2 separate regions of the Homo sapiens genome follow, and region 2 is linked to region 1. Evidence: promoter capture Hi-C in human tissues and cell types (Jung and others, 2019). All regions are on one chromosome and are shown on one strand. The core of a region is centred on a gene start or on the middle of the fragment in contact, and the rest is flanking DNA. Distances in the headings are between cores, read along the strand shown. Region 1 holds the start of KAZN (kazrin, periplakin interacting protein). Region 2 overlaps KAZN (kazrin, periplakin interacting protein).

The links. The method cuts DNA at HindIII sites, captures the fragments that hold promoters and counts their contacts. A contact is called where the count stands out against the background at its distance.
Region 2: a contact is called between a fragment that was not itself captured here and the fragment with the promoter of KAZN in region 1, in 1 of the 25 tissues and cell types used here (H1 embryonic stem cells).

The regions. Positions count from the first base shown.
Region 1 is chr1:14,597,125-14,602,547 of GRCh38, reverse strand. KAZN (kazrin, periplakin interacting protein) reads right to left here and starts at 3,863. Exons shown (of 15, transcript NM_201628.3): 1 at 3,325-3,863. The coding sequence starts at 3,550. RefSeq lists a silencer at 3,037-3,196. The HindIII fragment of the contact is 4,572 bases long and covers 298-4,869 here.
Region 2 is chr1:14,796,846-14,802,129 of GRCh38, reverse strand. All of the region lies in intron 1 of KAZN (kazrin, periplakin interacting protein), which reads right to left. LOC105376759 (a long non-coding RNA gene) reads left to right here. Exons shown (of 3, transcript XR_001737612.2): 3 at 653-723. Among named protein-coding and RNA genes, the nearest start is that of KAZN, 200 kb to the right of the region's middle. The HindIII fragment of the contact is 4,289 bases long and covers 1,383-5,284 here.

The DNA.
Region 1 (5,423 bases), core at 2,614-5,113:
CAAATCCCTTCTCTGGCTACCAACAACAAGATGAATTGGAACAAATGCTTGGCTCTGTTCTTTCCAAGCCTCCTTCTGTCCACCTGTCAAAGGCTGCCGTGACCCCACCGACCCAAAAGGCAGCCTCTGGAGCTCTGAAATGTGTCACCCTGCACGGACGCCCTCTGCACTGTACGCCAGCATTCTCATTAAGGATTATCCAACTCAGTTGCAGGAGGGAGAGACAAGATGGGCTGGCTGCCAGGAATTCTTTCAACACAGATTCCGAAAGAATATCCTCCGAAGTGCCGAAAGCCCAGATTTTCAGCAGTTCACTTTCTAGATTCTGTTACATAGCAACCATGCCAGCTCACAGGGAGTACCAACCAAGTTAATATTTTGTTTAAATGACACACTGCATTAACCCGCTAGGAAAACCCAAATTTTCTTCATCAAAAGGGGATACCAACCTACCTACTGCCCGTTGTCATCCCTGGAACAAAACAGCCAATGATGGATTGATGAGTTTGCTTCATTCATTTAAAAAAAGAATTTAAAAAACAAAAACAAAAACATTTGAAAATGAATCTAACAGTCTCTTGGCAGAGGAAGCAAAAGGTGACTCTTTCCCAAAACCATTTGTACTAATATTGTTAAAGTTACATTAGCATGCATTTAATATGTGCATAATGCCCTTTCGTTAAAAGATGACTTACACGGTTGCATTTTGAAATGCAAAGATACTCGTTTTATTCAAAACCTTGATTTGAAAACTGATAACTCAATAGCACTTAAACACTCTTAGGGTCTGGGCCCATTGAACTGCACCAACACAGACAAAATGAAAACACAAGACTAATTTGGAAGAACAGTCAGAAACCCTGAGGAGCTGAGCCTCTGGGAGCCTCCCTGGAGGTGTATTACGAAGAATCAAGTGGAACCCAATCAATTGCACTTTAAAATTAACTTGTGTGAGAACTCAAGGCTTCTTTTTAGGATAATGAAAGCAATGGCAAAAGAAACTACCAGACCACCTCTGCAGAGGGTTTCTGTGCTAGCAGGATGCTGCCACAGGCTATGAAAAAAACAAAAACAAACAAAAACAACTCCCGCCCCCATCAAAAAAAAAAAATCCCCCAAACTTACAGAGGCTAAATAATGTATCAAGTACTGTTGCTACAGACAAGTAAATGATACCCCACTGAACTTATACGGGGGCTTGTTTTCTTTTCAACCATCACATCTGTTGAAATGCATATCAGTTTAGACGGTTATGCGGCCAACAATCAAGTAGAGTTTAAACCTTTGAACATTTTATTTTCTGATTATAAAAATCACAAAGTGCCCCTAGGAAAGATTTTGAGACATACCAATGTACAAAGAGGAGAAATCAAGACCACCCTTCATCCTACCACCCACAGCCAGCCACTGACATGGGCAGGCACAGTCCTGAGAGCGTATGGGAGCTGCTGGTTTTATGTGTTTTTAAGGATATCCAAGAGATCCAAAAGCCATTTTCATTTCCACAGCCCTGTGCATTTGTGTAGGAAAAAAGAACAAGGAATCAGCCCCCTGTTGCTCCACTACAACAATTTAACCATCCGCGAGTATGTCAGTTTTCAAGTTGAGCATGTGGACATCATTACTGCGTTGACTGCCTTAGCCTGCCCAGTCTACAACCAGACCCAGGACTCAGATAAAAAGCCACTTAACTTTTCCTTCGCGGAGAAAGGGGCAGACAGTGGGAAATAAACGAGCATTGTTCAGTGTCCTTTACTATACAGCTTTTGATTCTTAGCAAAATGCCAGTTCTTAGCTATTTCTTTAATGTTAGCAGAGCCTCTGCCTATAAAAAGTGAAGCATTACCTTGCAGTCTGTCTTTTTTTTTTTTTTTTTTTTTTGCACAGGTTCCAGTGGAGAATGTTCTTTCGCACACAATGACATTGCAAGGATGACAAGAATAACCACATGTCAAGCTTGCAGCAAGCACTAGGACCACAACACCTTCTCACCATTACGTCATGGCTACTTCCTTACCAAAGTACTCCCCCCAATTCCTAAGACTTCCAACAGGCTCCGGGAGTACCAAGTTAAGATCTGACTTGGAATTCGACATAAAACTGCACGTGGGCAGGCTTCACATCTCACCTCAAAGAAAGCACACCTTCCCAGGAAGATAAGGTGGAAACAGAGACTGATGGAGAGAACCAGATTCTTAGGAAAACAGACTCTCTCAACCCTCAAGAGAAGCTCTTGAAATGACAACAGAACCAGAAAATCATTTTGAGCCACTGAGCAATTGGTACCTTGCACTTCAAGTGACATATTTAGACAAGTGGACCTCATGGACTGGAGATTTGTTTCTGTCCTGTTCTGGATTTCAGCAGTTTAATTTGCAATTCAAATGATATTAATAACCAGTGATACTGTTTCTTAAAGGGCAATTAGGCAAAAAGAAAAAAAAAATCCCCCAAAGCCTGCTTACCCTTTTACTTTCTAAGTCACAGAAACCAAACAGTACATTTTAGGGAATGCCCCATCCGCCTTTATGTCTTGCAGGGGGTTTCAGAGCTTAATCTCTGTCAATGTGAACACAAACCAACTGTCTTTTTCTTCCTCTTCTCTAAACCGCAGAGTCCCTTCAAACGGGCTCCCTGCAGCCCACCACCCTAAGCCTTCATTTCTCTACCGCTCAACCTTTGAGGTCTACAGTATCCCCCTGGAAAGTGCTCTCGGTGTTTATATTTGCGGAAATTTAAACTCCCTGCTGAGCTGAGCATCTACTGTTGCATCTATAGATTCCAATGCCTGAGAGACCTCAAATGAGAAGAAAATAAAGTCCAGATGCAACTGAGCCAAGGGATTTGGCATCCGCGGAGAAAAGTGCACAGCAGTGCAATCCTCTATCCCAACCACGGCGGCAGAGCCCGGAGCTCTCTCTGGGAAGGAGCCTAAGGAAGTGGGGGGAACTGTGCCATTCACCCCTGCGGGGGGTGGGGAAAAGGCCCCGGCATGAAAAGTTTGCACGGAGCTAGGGGGCTGGTGCCACGGAAAGGGCACTTTCTGATGCCGGAAGGGACCCGCCGGCTGCGCCTCGCTCAGGCTGGCCGGGGCCGGTGTGACCGTGTGACCCCGTGCACACTGCGCTCGGGTTTTCGTGAATGACAGCAGCCTGCAACTCCCAGCCGGAGAGCAGCGGTGGCCACCGCCGGGCGGAAAGGGTTACAAGCCAGAATGCAAAGCGATTTCGCCCCGGGTGTGGGGGACCCCGGGTCCCCGGCCACCTCCGAGGCCGGGCGTGCTCTGCTCGCCTTCCTCCGCCCTGGGCGCCGGGGCGATCCTACCTTGCGCTCCAAGCTGGGGGTTCTCCATGTTCGTCGCCGCCGAGTCCCCCGCCGCCGAGGCGCTGGCCGCGGCTCCCGGGCCCGGGCCGGGGCCGCCGCCGCCGCTCAGTTCCGCCAGTCTCCGGTTGGTGGCCGTGAGTTCGGCTCGCAGGTTGGTCACCTCCTGGCTGGCCGACTGGACCGCCCCATCGATGCGGAGCGCGAGCTGCTTATTGTCTTCCATCATGCTCAGGATTTTGGCCTGGGGGCGAGAGAGGTGACAAAGAGCTGCATGATGCGCGGGGGGCGCGCGGCCGGGCACCCCCGGCTCTACCTGTTGTGTCCTCCGCGGCCCGGCTTCGCCCGCGCCCCGACCCCCAGGCACCGGCAGCGCCGGTTCCTCCGGCACAGGAATGACAGCGGCGCCTCCAGCCCTAGCCGCGGCGGTGGCGAGGCGGCGGGGGGAGGAGGCGGAGGAGAAAAAAGAGGAGGAGAAGGAGGAGGAGGAGCAGCGATCGCCGAGACCCCGGCGGGCGGGCGCCGAGAGCTGCTCCAAGAAGGACACCGCGCGCCACCAGGCACTCTTTAAATGGAGCCTACCATTCGCCGCCGGCTCGGGAGGGGGTCTCGGTCGGAGGCTGGGGGCACCCTTGGCCTCCCGCGCCCCCGTACTTCGGAGACACACCCCCCGGGGGGGCGGAGGCGGCGGACGGCAGTCGGGAGGGGGCCAAGGTGGCGCCCCTGGCGAGGGGCAGGGGTCGCCTGGACCGAGGCCGGCCCTCTGTCCCCTCCCTTGAGCGGTGGGGCAGCCCCCGCCCTGGAGAACTGGTGCCCCGAGCCGTGCTAAGGTTGGGGAGGTGCTGGGTGCTCGGAAGAGAGGGTGCTTGGAAAGGGGGCCTCAGAGGGGAGCCGGGGTGGATCTCCATGGAAGGGAGACGCTTGCGCCAGCTCAGGAGTGGAGTTCGTGCTCCACCGGTTCCTTAAACTGCGAGTACGAAATCCCCAGAGGGGAGCTGAGCTGGTGCCCCGCGTGCCTCTCACTCTCCACCCCCCACCCGCAGGCCAGACCTGCGCTGCCCACCCCAGGAGGGAGCGCCTATCTTCCTCGGCGTGGGCCGCTGGTGCTCCCGCCTCTCCACAGCCCTAGCCCTGTGTGTGCATCCAGGTGGAGGAGCAGCCTTAGCCAGCTCCTAAGCTTCTTAGCCGGGCTGAATATTGGCGGGGACAGAGATGAGGTTGAGAGATAAGAAGGAAGGCGTCGATGGGGCTTCTTCCCTTTCTTCTACTGGGAGCAGAAGAGTTGAGCCCTGCTGCCTCAGTTTACCCATCCCCTCTTCACAGAAGAACTGAGGTAACCTGACGTTGATATGCCCTCTCCAGCTCCTCTTTCTCTCCCAGACCACAGGCTTTGCATTTTTCACTGGGGCCCTGGATTCCAGCCACCAGACCTTGTTACCATAGCAAACTTCATTCCATGCAAATAGGACAATTTAAAACAGCCAGCAACCCTCTGGTCAACAGGGCGCCATCATTCCAGCTCAGTCAACCTCCGGAGAGCAGCAAAGAGCAGATTGCAGAAGCCAGTGGGGTGCTGCGAGGAAAAATGAGGCTGCCCACCCTTCAGGTTCTTACAGGAAGCCCATAAGAACCAAGCAAAAACTGCGTGTAGAGTGCTTTTATATGCATTCTTATCTCTTGTGAGTGAGGATTATTATTCCCATTTTAGGGATAAGGAAACTGAGGCTCTGCATAGGGTTAAGCAATTTACTTAAGGGGCCCGCAGAAACCAGGTGACAGCGGGACTGGAAGAAAGTAATCATCTGATTGCAAGTTCCTCCTGCTGCGCCTTCAGGAGGCCTTGGATGATAGATTTCTCCCCCCTTTTCTGTGGAACCATAAAAACAGTCTTGCTCCATTCCCCTGTGACCACTAACAAGCTTTTGCAAGAGGGCAGGATTTGATGGTGGAGCATGTGGCAGGAAGACACAATTCTTCACTCTGTCCGCTCTGCTCAGCTAATGGGTCAGTTCGGGGATCGAACCCTGACCTTAACCTCATTAACACAAGTTCTTACCAACTGGACCAACCAAGGCACTTAGAACTGCTTAGTGTATCTGCAA
Region 2 (5,284 bases), core at 2,278-4,777, 200 kb before region 1:
CCGGCCATTGTCCCAATTTTGAAAACTACCACATGGAGAGAGTCGACGAAAGCTTTCTGGACGAGATCATTCTAAAAAGCAGGGCATGACAGAGGAAGGGCTCAGAGGACAGCTCTCTTCAGCGCAGAGAAAAAGTTTAGGAGAGAGGCCAGGCACGGTGGCCGACGCGTGTAATCCCAGCACTTTGGAAGGCCAAGGCGGGCGGATTACGAGGTCAGGAGATAGACACCATACTGGCTAACATGGTGAAACCCCGTCTGTACTAAAAATACAAAAAAATTAGCTGGGCGTGATGGCGGGTGCCTGTAGTCCCAGCTACTCAGGAAGCTGAGGAAGGAGAATGGCATGAACCCGGGAGGCAGAGCTTGCAGTGAGCCGAGATCAAGCCACTGCACTCCAGCCTGGGCAACAAAGCGAGACTCCACTCAAAAAAAAAACAAAAAAACAAAAAAAACAAAAAAAACTTTAGGAGAGACCTTGCAGCCCAAGTACATAAACTCATCAGCAGTCTGTGTCGGAGCAGGCCAGGCCGTCATAGCCCTCCTGAGGAAGCCCAGGGCATGGTAAACGGCCACTATCTGGGGAGGCCTCTGCTCCTTCCCGGGGAGGTGTAGGTTTTATGGAGGATGGCCATCCTAAATCACCCTCTCAGTCCTAGGAGAGCCCCAAGAGCCTGCGGAGAAGGGACCCAGCCACTCTCTGGACTGCGGAATGTGTCGTCACCTGCCTGACCCCTCACACCTGGCTTCACCTGTGCGTGCCACCCCTCGTCACGAAACCGACAGTGAGCGCCAGTCAGCCAGTCATAACGGCACAGACTTTCTCCTGGTTTTGACTCCCTGGACTCAGGAGAGACGCACATTTCCCCGAGGAGCTTGCTGAGCGGTGACGGAGAGAGAAAGCCACGATGATGCTGAAACACCCTGAGACGGCTCCGACTGGCTCGAGAGGGCAGCTGCCGGAAAGCCCCCCACTCACTGCCTGCCTCTGCTTTGCCGCGACGATTAGAACGGCTCCTCTTATCACCACCCTCTGCGCCCCGTGACTCTTTTTCTCCCACGTATTTCTTTTTTTTTTTTTTGAGATAAAGTTCATCGATCATAAAATTCACCCTTTTAAAGTGTACAATTCAGTGTTTTTTAGCATATTCATGAGGTTGTGCAACTATCACCGTAACCTAATTCCAGAACATTTTTATCAGCCCCAAAAGAAACCCCTACCCACGAGCAGTCACTCCCCACTTCCCCTCCCACAGTCCCCGGCAACTACGAAGCTACTTTCTGTCTTCCTAATGTACAGACTTCCCTAATCTGGACATTTCCTATGAATGGAATCATACAACGTGTAGTCTTTTGTGACTGGCTTCACATAGCATCACATTTTCAAGGGACATGCATGTTGTAGCATGTGCTTCATTCTCTTTTTTGAGACAGGGCCTCACTCTGTTGTGCAGGCTGGAGTGTGGTGTTGCAATCATGGCTCGCTGCAGCCTCCATCTCCCAGGCTCAAGCGATCCTCCCACCTTAGCCTCCAGAGTAGCTGGGACCACAGGCATGTGCCACCACACCAAGCTAATTTTTTAATGTTTTGTAGTAGAGATGGGGTCTCACTATGTTGCCTAGGCTAGTCTTGAACTCCTAGGCTCAAGTGATCCTTTTGCCTCGGCCTCCCAAAGTGCTGGGATTACAGGCACGAGCCACCGTGTCTGGCAATTACTTCATTCTCTTATGGCTTAAAAATATTTGATTGCATGGATTGACCACATCTTGTTTATTCATTCACCTTTTGTTGGACATTTGGGTTATTTGCACCTTTCAGCTCTCATGAATAATGCTGCTGTGAACGCTCATAGGAGTGTTTGTGTGGACACACGTTTTCAGTTCTCGTGGATGTATACCTAGGAATGGAGTTGCTGAGTCATATGTGGTTCTTGGTTTTGGGATCACAAAAACCTGGAGATCTGCCATGCTGGGTCAGCCTTGGGGTACTTTTGGGTTAGGATTCTGCCTCCCGTAAATCTCTGCTGTCTCCTCATCTGGCTCATCATGGACCTGCCATCCCATTCCCAATACATCCAAGCCTTGAGTCCCCACGACACTCATACTTCCCTAGATATGCAGATAGTCTGACAACATCTCCAAAATTCAGGAGAAGAAACATGTCAGATACTTATAACTTTGATATGGCCTTCGGGGACATCTATTATCTAATACCGTTTCATTAGAAAAACATGAAGATATAAAAATGAACTCAAGGAGAGGAATTCTGATGGGGGTCTCCAAGGCTTCCTATAAAATATCGTGTAAGATTTCAGAAATGAAACTAAATTGTACATTAAATTTTTTTATTTCGTTGAAGCCTACTTTTCCAAAAAAAAAGTTCTTAAGGGGTTTCTGGGTAAAAGTAAAATCCGCTTGTTAATTATATCCTGAGCCCACCATCGCACGAGGAATTTTGTTTTCTTGACATCGACCAGATCTGATTAAGTGAATGGTCAAGGAGGTAATAACATCCCCTCTTTGAAGAGCTGGCTCTGGCCAGGCCCGTTTCTGATCATTTTAACAACTCGACTGGTTCCTCTAAAAAATTAAATGAAAGTTAGCCTCGAACCTGGAGGTACTTTTCCATTCATTTACTGTCGGTCCACGTCAATATTCTAAAGAGGTTTCAAGTGTTCCTCCTTTTTGAATAATTTATCATAGCTAATGAAAGCTTTAAAGATTGGCTAACGTGAAAGCGGAACAGGCATTCCCACAGGTGTCCCAAATGAAGCCTTTCTGGATGAAGAGATGAAAATACCCATTTCAGCTTCTGCAGCCCTGAAGCAATTCAGTTGATGGAGTTTACCTCAACTTAAGAAGGATTCATTGCGCATCCATTCTGAACACATCCTGTACAAATGAGATGTAAAGTAGTATTAAGAGGGGGCCTTAAACAGGGTAGGATAGGTTATACCGCAGTAACAAACAATGCCACAAATGTCAGCAGTTTAAAATAACGAACACATGTCTTACTGGGTCTCTGTTCATCTCACCCTCAGAGAGAAAGTAGTCCAGGCACAGTGGCTCATCATGCCTGTAATCCCAGCACTTTGGGAGGCTGAGGCAGGCAGATCACTTGAGCTCAGGAGTTTGAGACCAGCCTGGGCAACCTGGCAAAACCCCATTTCTATGAAAAAACAAACAAACAAACAAACAAATAATTGGCTGGGCGTGGTGGCACTTGCCTGTAGTCCCAGCTACTTGGGAGGCTGAGGTGGGAGGATGGCTTGAGCCCGGGAGGCAGAGGCTGCAGTGAGCCGAGATCATGCCTCTGCACTCCAGCCTGGGTGACAGAGCCAGACCCTGTCTCAAATAAAATAAAAAAGAAAAAGAAAAGAAAAGAAAAAAGAAAGTGGGCCGGGCGTGGTGGCTCACGCCTGTAATCCCAGCACTCTGGGAGGCTGAGGCGGGAGGATCATGAGGTCGGGAGATCGAGACCATTTTGGCTAACATGGTGAAACCCCATCTCTATTAAAAATACAAAAAATTAGCCGGGTGTGGTGGCGGGCGCCTGTAGTCCCAGCTAATCTGGAGGCTGAGGCAGGAGAATGGCGTGAACCTGGGAAGTGGAAAGTGGAGCTTGCAGTGAGCCGAGATAGGGCCACTGCACTCTAGACTGGGTGACAGAGCAAGACTCTGTCTCAAAAAAAAAAAAAAAAAAAAAAAAAAAAAGGAAAGAAACAGAAAAAAGAAAGCAAAGATCACCTCCGAGGGCTATTGATTTCTTTGTGGAGAAGAGATGTTTACTGACTGACATTTTCAAGTTGCTTGGATGCTGCCCTACTTAATTATGTTCTACTTTGTAAGTGTGGGCTCCAGGAGAGAGTGAGCCCTCCACTAAGAGGGCAAGCAACGTAAAGATAGCACCGTGGTTTTACTCCTTTCCCGTTTGCATTGATGCTCCAGTGCCAGGCTCAGCATGGAGCAGGTGACCCAAAACTGTGTAAGCGGCAGCAACAGGGAGCCCAGAGGTGTCATGCGTGAGTTTGAAACTTGCCTCTGGCACTCACAAGCTGCATGACTCAGACAGTTTTCTTAACCTCTCTGTGCCTCAGTTTCCTCATCTGTAAAGTGGGGGAGATAGGAGTCCCTTCTTCCCAGTGTACAAAGAGCAACTGAATCAGTGCCTGTCAAGCACCAAGAAGGGTTCCTTGGCACATCGTGGGCATCGTGTTTTTGATGAATAAATGAGAGCTGGCATCTTTTAAGTGTTGAGTTAGGAGTTGCACTAAGCACTCCACAAGGACTATTTCATTGAATCCTCACGGCTACTCAATGAAAGAGACATGCTGTGATGACCATTTTGCAGATGAGGAAACTGAGGCTTGGAGAGGTAATTTGCCTGGGGCCCCGTAACTAGTCCAAGGTGGAGCTAAAATTTGAACCTGGATCTTCCTGACTCCAGGGCCGACACTCTGTCTTGAAGCTATAGAACCTCTATTTGCAGAATAGAATAAAAAAGCTTAGTGAGATCAGTGATAAAAATGAATGAGATTGCCCTCATTTTTCTTGATTCGATGTATTGTTAACTCTGCATTCCGCCTTTTAACTCTTTAACTCTTCACTTGGCCTTTTAACATTCTTGGTTCCAACACACTTTCTAATCCCCTCACATCGATCCCTCTTCATAGACTCTCATCTCCTGGAACGGCTTCCAGGTTCCCACTGCTAGAGTCTCCAGTTAGCGCTTCTTGGACAAAACATAGTTAAATTAAAAACAGCACCATAGGCCAGGGATGGTGGCTCATGCCTGTAATCCCAGCACTTTGGGAGGCAGAGGCAGGCGGATCACCTGAGGTCAGGAGTTCAAGACCAGCCTGGCCAACATGGTGAAACCCCGTCTCTACTAAAAATACAAAAATTAGCCAGGGGTGGTGGTGCACGCCTGTAAGCCCAGCTACTTGGGAGGCTGAGGCAGGAGAATCACTTGAACCCAGGAGGCGGAGGCTGCAGTGAGCCGAGATCATGCCACTGCACTCCAACCTGGGCAACGAGAGCAAAACTCCATCTGAAAAACAAAAACCAAAAAACAAAAAAACCCAGCACCACCTTTCTGCCCTTTCTACCTCCATGTGTGTTACCTAAGTGGCCACCAAATGATACATCAACATAGCTTAACCCACTGCTTCCAAGTCCATCAGGCCGTCTTCACCATTTTCCTTACATGGGGTACCTGGGAGCTGCCCTCACCACTGAGTGGACTCAGGTCTTCCTTCTCTTTGTCACAGTCATGCTGTGGAGAA